Linked DNA regions of Homo sapiens: all the other regions are linked to region 3. Evidence: promoter capture Hi-C in 16 types of primary human blood cells and fetal thymus (Javierre and others, 2016). All regions are on one chromosome and are shown on one strand. The core of a region is centred on a gene start or on the middle of the fragment in contact, and the rest is flanking DNA. Distances in the headings are between cores, read along the strand shown. Region 1 overlaps RPUSD4 (RNA pseudouridine synthase D4). Region 2 overlaps KIRREL3 (kirre like nephrin family adhesion molecule 3). Region 3 holds the start of ST3GAL4 (ST3 beta-galactoside alpha-2,3-sialyltransferase 4).

Evidence for each region. The method cuts DNA at HindIII sites, captures the fragments that hold promoters and counts their contacts. A CHiCAGO score of 5 or more calls a contact.
Region 1: a fragment that was not itself captured here is called in contact with the fragment with the promoter of ST3GAL4 in region 3 in 1 of 17 cell types (neutrophils); the score reaches 9.4 in neutrophils.
Region 2: a contact is called between a fragment that was not itself captured here and the fragment with the promoter of ST3GAL4 in region 3, in 1 of 17 cell types (neutrophils). The highest score is 8.4, in neutrophils.

Annotation. Positions count from the first base shown.
Region 1 is chr11:126,205,333-126,208,032 of GRCh38, forward strand. It overlaps RPUSD4 (RNA pseudouridine synthase D4), which reads right to left. Exons shown (of 7, transcript NM_032795.3): 4 at 356-449; 5 at 136-280. Among named protein-coding and RNA genes, the nearest start is that of RPUSD4, 5.0 kb to the right of the region's middle. The HindIII fragment of the contact is 1,248 bases long and covers 627-1,874 here.
Region 2 is chr11:126,482,990-126,485,689 of GRCh38, forward strand. All of the region lies in intron 4 of KIRREL3 (kirre like nephrin family adhesion molecule 3), which reads right to left. Among named protein-coding and RNA genes, the nearest start is that of KIRREL3-AS1, 59 kb to the right of the region's middle. The HindIII fragment of the contact is 6,543 bases long and covers 1-2,700 here.
Region 3 is chr11:126,354,265-126,356,964 of GRCh38, forward strand. It overlaps ST3GAL4 (ST3 beta-galactoside alpha-2,3-sialyltransferase 4), which reads left to right and starts at 1,422. Exons shown (of 11, transcript NM_001254757.2): 1 at 1,422-1,578. GSEC (G-quadruplex forming sequence containing lncRNA) reads right to left here and starts at 1,323. Exons shown (of 2, transcript NR_033839.1): 1 at 1,178-1,323. RefSeq lists enhancers at 314-1,057, 1,058-1,799, 1,800-2,543, 2,231-2,380 and a silencer at 1,261-1,640. The HindIII fragment of the contact is 3,511 bases long and covers 549-2,700 here.

The sequences.
Region 1 (2,700 bases), core at 1-2,500, 150 kb before region 3:
CCCGGCCTCAGATCAGCACCAGAAGCACATTCTCACACAAGTCAGCCACACTACTAGCTGCTCAGAACGAGGCCCTGGACAAAACCTGGTGGCACAGGGTTTTGTGATCCCACTGCGGAAAAGTGACACTCTCACCAGTGATGGGCTGGAGCTCCACGAGGGCGGAGGAGAGAGTGCTGCTGAGCACCTGGTACTGAGTTACAGCAACTTGCGCATTCCGGCTGCGCCGCACTTTCACCATTTTCCCATCGTCCATGCGGTAGCTCGGGGACAATGTCATCTGAAGCCAAAGAAATCAAGATATGATTCCCAAGGAAGAGCAGCAACCCATGCCTCAGGGAGGCTGCTCGCTCACCTTGTGGTGTTGCTGCTGGCCTTGCGCCTCCTTCTCCACAATGGGGATGTCCACGACTCCTGCTGAGGGCATGGGGACATGCACAGTGATGGCCCTGGGGGTGACACAGATCACTGCTTTAGCCAACCAAGCCAGAGAAGAACTCCTAGATTTGGCCACTTAGAGGATTTCACGCTGGACCTTCTGCACTAACATGTGATTTCTTATGATTGAAGGATCGTGCAAGATTCTCTTGGTGTAATGCTTAGCCTGAGAGCTGATAGATTTCACAAGCTTATCTTTTTTACTACTAAAGTCATACATGCTAATTGTAGAATATTTGGGGTAAAAAAAGAAAAAAATTACATTAATAACATGGTCTTTCCAGTCTTTAAAAATGGATATGTACAGTTAAAATAAAATTATGGTAATATAGTTTTGTATTTTTTTTCAAATAATAAAAGATTGTAGATTCTGACTGCATGGTAAATGAACAAATGAATAATTGGATGAATGAACCTAATAAAACATTCAGAGAACCGTTCCTGGCTCATTTGCCACATAGGTAAAACAGGAGGGAACTGTACCCGAAGAAGTCACAGGGGACAGGCGTGGTGGCTCACACATGTAATCCCAATACTTTGGGAGGCCAAGGCGGGTGGATCACTTCAGGTCAGGAGTTCAAGACCAGCCTGGCCAACATGGTGAAACCCCATCTCTACTAAAAATACAAAAAAAAAATCAGCCAGGCGTGGTGGCGCGTGCCTGTAATTCCAGCTACTTGGGAGGCTGAGGCATGAGAATCGCTTGAATCCAGGAGGTGGAGGTTGCAGTGGGCCAAGATTATGCCACTGCACTCCAGCCTGGGAGACACAGCAAGACTCCGTCTAAAAAAAGAAAGAAAGAAGTCATAGGTACCACAACCACAACTCAATAACTCATTCCAAATCACTTCTGTTGGTGTTCTCCCTCCCATGACCTCATGACCTCACAGACAGGTAGAAGACTGTTTAATCTGTCTGTAAATTTATGCCTCTTTCAGGTCAATGATGGAAAAGTCCATCTGGGTACCTGGTGGTCGGTTGTATAATCACTAACCACGGGGTCAAAATCCTACTCACACACACTATTTCACAACGCAGACACTCCACTTCAGTTTCAGCTACTATCTGGTACATTTTATCGTATTTTACAGATTTTGTAGATCTTCTGTGACAAGAATGTCCTTCCTAATGATATGACACTACAACTCAAGAATGTTCCATCAGCAAGACCCAACTGATTGATTTCAATTCCTCCATGAACCTGATACCGAGAATGGTTACCAATTTTGAACCTTAATGGACATTTTTCACAAATAACATAACATGTATTTTATAGTCTTAATATTTTGATTGCTTGAATAGAAAAATAAGTCTCTATTTTTTATTTTTTAACTTTTCCTATGAACTAGGTACTGTGTTAAACATTTCACAAGAATCAATCTTATTTAACTATCTCATAAATCCTACTGTTTCCATTTTTCAGATGAAGAAAACAAAGCTTATGGACATTTAATAACCTGCCCAAGGCCCCACAGCTGTTAAATGACACAGTTGAGAGTTGAACACACATCTTTTTGAGGTCTTAGCTACTGTCCTAAATTCCTCCATTCTCCATAATCTTATCATAGTTCTTAAATTTGATTGTATATCAAATTTTAAAATACAGATGCCAATCCCCACAACCACCACACTTACGAATGAGAACTTCTGTGGGTAAGTCTCAATCATACATATTTTTAAAGGGCTCCTCAGATTCACAAAGTATCTGCAAAATCTGTAATCTAAAAAGGACTAACATTCAAAATATAAAATGAATACTTACAAATCAAATAGAAAAGAATAAACAACCTGGGCCAGACACAGTGGCTCACGCCTGTGAGCTGTAAGCGCTGTAATCCTAGCACTTTGATGGACAGATCACTTTAGGTCAGGGGTTCAAGACCAGCCTGGCCAACAGGCTGAAACCCCATCTCTACTAAAAATACAAAAATTAGCTGGGCATGGTGGCATGTGCCTGTAATTCCAGCTAGCTGAAACATGAGAACCACTTGAACCAGGGAGGAGGTTGCAGTGAGCCAAGATTGTGCCACTGCCCTCCAGCCTGGGTGACACAGCAAGACTCCATCTCAAAAAAAAAAGGCCAGGCACGGTCTTAAATAAAAAAAAATAATAATAATAAACAACCCTGTAGAAAAATAGGCAAAAGAAATAATCAGTCTGTTCCCAAAAGGGAAACTCAAATAGCCAATAAACATGTAAAAAACATGTAAATTGATAGCCAATATCACTGTTATACAAGGAAATAGAAAATATCTTTTTTTT
Region 2 (2,700 bases), core at 109-2,608, 130 kb after region 3:
GAGAAAACAGCAGAAGCAAAAAGTTTACTCTCCAATCCCCTGCCTTCCTGGGCGAGAGCTAGCTGTAAAAAATTCTTTGACCCATCTCCCCTGAAACTAGGTCATGAGATCCTCATTCCAGAGGGATCCTGCCCTATACTCAGAGGAAAGAAACGGTGTACAGGAACTCAAAGAGGAATGCAGGCAAGGCCTTGCTAAGTTCTTCTGGTTTGTTACCATGAGGTCATACCCCCTTTTTTGTCCAATCACATTTCTGCACAACTGCCCATTCTTTGTTGAACATAAGCCTACAAATACACAATTTTCCCATGGCATTTGGGCCTTCATTTCTGAAAGCTCACATAAAACTTTGGTTAAATACATCTGTTGCACTTTTCTCTTCTTAATCTATCGTTTGTTACACGGGTGTCAGCTGCAAACCTTGTAATGGATGAGGAAAATATATTACTTTTTCTCCCCTGCAGCAGCAAAAGCTAACTGATGTAACCCAGTAGTCCCCTGCTGTTTGATTCAGAACTGGGCCCACGGCATCAACTGTCTCTCCACTTCCCTCCGATCCATTCTCCCTCCACTATGGCCAGGTGACTGTTCTGGAAGCTCGGTCTGCTGCTCACAATGTTCAATGGTTCCCACTGCTCCAGCACAAAAATCAATTCCTCATCATGGGGGCCTTCCCCGGTTCTCTCCAGTGAGGTCTCATCTCTGCAGCTTTCTCCTGTGTGACCATTAACTCTTCTGTGAGGATAGCCTGCCCTTTTACAAATACACGCTTTGGCTTGTGAAGTTCCCTTTGCTGGGAATCTCCTTGCCTGAGTCTTAACTGGCTGGAATCCCAGCCTCTTTTCAATCAGCTCAAAGGCCTATCATGCCTTGTTAACTCTTGGTTATTCTTTAAGACTCAGGCTATTGTCACCTCCTCCACAAAGTCTTCTCTCAATCTCAACCCCTGACTCTCCCACCTGCAGCCTCTGCACTGCCATAAGACCATGTGCCCGCCTCAGCAGGTACATGTGGTGCCTGGCGCCATTACCACCTGTTGTTCCCCTGAGGCTGTGAGCTCCTTGAGGGCTGGTCCTTGCCAAATTCTCTCTCTAGTACTTAGTACAGTGCCTGGCATAGTGAGCACTTAATAAATACTTGTTGCCTGGTGCCTTGCCTGATCCCACTGAATTAGAAGCCCCCTCCCCACCTGAGCACCTCTTACACTGGTCCTCACCACATCTCTATTGCATTGACTTGTGGACCTGTTTCAGGTTCCCTACAGTTGCAGGGTAGGAGTCCTGGCGCCTCTTTGCCTGTCTCCCATTGCCTAGTATGTTACCTTGGATGCAGTCATAAAAAAACAGCACCAATAATATGAATAATAGCTAACATTGATATAGGGCTTACCACACAGCAAGAACTCTTCTGTGTACTTTACAAATATCCTTTAATCCTCACAGCTCTATATAAGGTAGATACAATGACGATGCATATTTTGGAGGTGAGGAAACAGCCACAAAGTAGTCAAGTTACTTGCCCAACATCACATAGCTAGTAAGCAGCAGAGCTGGGATATGGGTAGGGTTTCCAGACTTAACAAATCAAAGAACAGTAGGCCCTGTTAAATGTAAATTTCAGATAAATTAAAAAATGGTAGTGTAAGTATGTTTATCTGAAATTCACATTTAACAGGGAATCCTGTATTTTATCTGGCAATCCTGTAGATGTGTTAATTACATATATGTGATTTAATTAATGTAGGTGTGCTTTCCCCCTCTTCAGACCCTCCCCGCCTCCACTTAGGTCTATATTAAGAAGATGTGGGGCAAGATGCAAATGGGATTTTTTTTTTTTTTTTTCTGAGACGGAGTCTCGCTCTTGTCACCCAGGCTGGAGTGCAATGGCACAATGTAGGCTCACTGCAGCCTCCGCCTCCCAGGTTCAAGCGATTCTCCTGCCTCAGCCTTTTAAATAGCTGGGATTACAGGCACCTGCCACCACGCCTGGCTGATATTTTTTGGTACTTTTGGTGGAGACGGGGTTTCGTCATGTTGGCCAGGCTGGTCTCAAACGCCTGACCTCAGGTGATCCGCCCACCTTAGCCTCCAAAGTGCTGGGATTACAGCTGTGAGCCACTGCGCCCGGCCACAAGTGGGATTGTTAAAGGATGTGGCATCCGATATATTTGGCAGCACAATCGCACAGACGTGTCTCCAAGGAGGTTGGGGACAGAGAGAAAAGAGGAACAAGGAGCAAGACGCAGGTTTAGGATGATGGCATGTAGCTCAGAGGAAGGTGTGCTGGAGGCTGTTTCAGTTCTGCTCCTAACCTGGGGGTGGGGGGAACCCTGAACTAGCTGACTTCAGAGGTCCCCTGCAAAGGTTTGGGACACTGGGAAGCCCACTTCTCAGCTGGAGCTCATATTGTTTAGGGGATAAGAAGGGAGGCCCTGAAGTCAGAGTGCCTGGCTGGGCTTCTGGCTCCGTCATTCACTGGCCACGTGACCATGTGCAAATTCTCTGTGCTGGATGATGTTAATGTCATAGATATTATAGTAGCTGTTGTACAGGGCTGGTGTGCTGTTTAAATGAGTTCATGTAAGAGTTATGCAGTGTCTTGTCCCAGAGCTTGGCACTGTAGTAAGAACCCACTAAATTTTAGCTCTTAGTATTATTGTTGTTTATTTAATAAGTAACTCCACATGGGGGCAGAGTAGCA
Region 3 (2,700 bases), core at 172-2,671:
GCATGGTGGCACGCGCCTGTAGTCCCAGCTACTCGGGAGGCTGAGGCAGGAGAATCACTTGAACCCGGGAGGCAGAGGTTGCAGTGAGCCAAGATCACGCCAGTGCACTCCAGCCTGGCGACAGAGCGAGACTCTGTCTCAAAATAATAAATAAATAAATAAATAAATAAATAAATAAATAGTTGTTGAATGCATGTCTGACTGATTAAGCCAAAGGCACCATATTCAAACAAAATCAGACACTGGTGCAATGCCAAACAGCTTCTGCCCGTGCAAGGAATGATTTAGCATGGAGCACAGTCACCTGCAGAGGAACAACTTGGAGGCAGACTCTCCTTACTCAGCTCACTTGGAGCAGAGCTTCCTGAGTTGGGGGTTCTTGACAGATAAGCCCTCCAGCTTCAGCAGAAGCAGGCTTGGAGCTGCCACTTCTCTGAACCCCCTTGCACTTACTGTCAGTCACTCACACCTTGCACTTATTCACATCCTATCCTGCCTCGTTCTTGAATGGAGTCCATGGTGAGCCTTCTCTGTGCCGCTGGATGGTAAGCTTCCTGGGGACAGGGAATGGGTCTGATAGTTTCCTTGGAGCCCCTGGCGCTCCCGGCACTGGGCTGTTGATACGTGGGGCTCCGGAAACACTGTGCTGACCTGTGAAAGGGACTGGCCTAAGGGGCTGTGGATTGTCCTGTAGGGTGACTTCTGAACTGTTCTTCAGCCTGGGCAGTTCCCAGGTTTATTTGGGGGGATGCCTGGGTCCAAAGAACCAGGGTCAGGGGCCCAGGGGTTTCTTCCTGGAGACAGGATGCCTGGCGCCTTCAATAACGGAAAGGAAACTGAGAAACTTTCTGAGGCCAAGATAAAGAGTATGCAAGTGAGGGGTGCAGAGAGAGCAGTTTAGGGGCAGCAGGCCCCAACCGAAGCAGAGGAAGGGCCCACGTCTGGGCCCAGGGGACTGACTGGCTGCCTTGCGTGCATGGGGCACGGGAAGCATAGGCTCCCGGAACAGGACCCTGCCCCAGTTTCCCCAGTGAGGGAAGGACACCGTTCCCCGTGGGATAGAGCACTGCACCCTTTCTTGATTCTCATTGTTCCCGGGAGCGAGCGCCTTGGCTGCGCTGGGCATACCCACCCTGGCGCCATTCACAGGCAGTGCCTGCCCTGGCCCTGTGCTCACCCCATCAGGCCTCCTCTTCCGCCTCTCTGGCACCCACGGCGCCCCTGCTTGCCTCTGTCCGGGTCTCGGAGGCGCGAACACCATCCCAAGCCTGCGACCGCGCGGCATCACCCCCGCCCTTCCCCCTCCTCCACCCCGCCCTTTCTACCCCTCCCGGGAGCTCCTGGGAGTCGGGCCGCCGTGTGCGCAAGCGTGTCCAGCCCCTTCCCCGCCCCCAACCCGGGCCCGGGTCCCCGCCTCCCCTGCAGGCGGACTCGCCCGCTCCCAGGCCGGACCCGCGCCCGGGACAGGGACCCGGCCGAGTCGAGCCGTCGCGCCAGCGCTGCGCCGCCGGTCGGTGCGCCTAGCGGATCGGAGCTGCGCGCGGAACCGTGCTGCCCCGCCCCGCTCCACCCGTGAGGGTGAGTACGCGGCGGCGGTGCGCGGGGGCCCGCGGGGCGGGGCGGGGCGGGGAGCCGCGGGGTCCTCGGCCGCCTGACCCCAGCCGGCGCCGCGCCTCCCGGAGGGGGTCGGGCCCTGCACGTGGGCGCAGCGCGGGTCGGGGTGGGGCTGCCACAGCCCTGCGGAGCTGCTTTCCGGGGTCCCTTTCCCTGGACCAGATTTTCGCGGGAAGCCGGATCCTCTCCGTTCCCTTGGAGTGAGCAAGCGGGACAGTTCTGCGGAAAGTTTCCGCCCCCAATCCCCCAGCCCTGCGCCCGGACTGAAGCGGCGGCCCCCACCTCCAGCATCCTCGAGCGATGGTTTCTCCCACAACTACCCCGGTCAGGTCCAGCACTTGGGAGCTGACTGTGCTGGAGGTGACAGGCTTTGCGGGGTCCGCCTGTGTGCAGGAGTCGCAAGGTCGCTGAGCAGGACCCAAAGGTGGAGTTGTCAGTGGGAGGCCGGCTGTGCCCAGGGTCCTAGGGCCACGTTATGGGGGTCGTCAGGCCTAGGCCACTGTGCCTCAGGGCTGCATGGGTGGTGAGCAGTGGGAGGGATGCGATGGGGGGAGTGGGCTCAGCTGTCTGCTGTGGGTGTTTCCTCGGGGACCTGGCTGGCAGGGACCTCCCGGCCAGCCCAGAACTGCCAACATGTCTGCCAGCACTGCCCCTCCATTCCCAGTCCTGGGGGGAGGCTCTGTCTGGGCAGCTTGAGGCCTGACCTACTGTGGCTGCTTCCTCTGCTCCCCAGCCTGGGTCCTGAGGGCCTGGCTTAAGGGAACTGCTGCCAGAAGGCTGGGAGTGTAGGCAGTGTTCGGGTGCCCAGCTGTGCCCTGTCTGACCTCATGGCCACCCACAAGCTGGCACCCCCCACAGGCCTCTTGGGGAAGCCTGTACTTTCCACCGCCGGAGGCGGGTACCGCGTGGAAGCCAGGCTCAGGCGGACTCATTCTTTTTGAACTTTGGGAACAGGCCTGGTACAGGCTGAGTTCTCACAAGAGACACACACCCGTGTCACTGTCTCCTGAGCTGTGCCGGACCCGTCCTACAGACTCCACCTCCTCTAGGTCCTGGCCCTGGCATCTGCCAGGGGGATTTTAAATG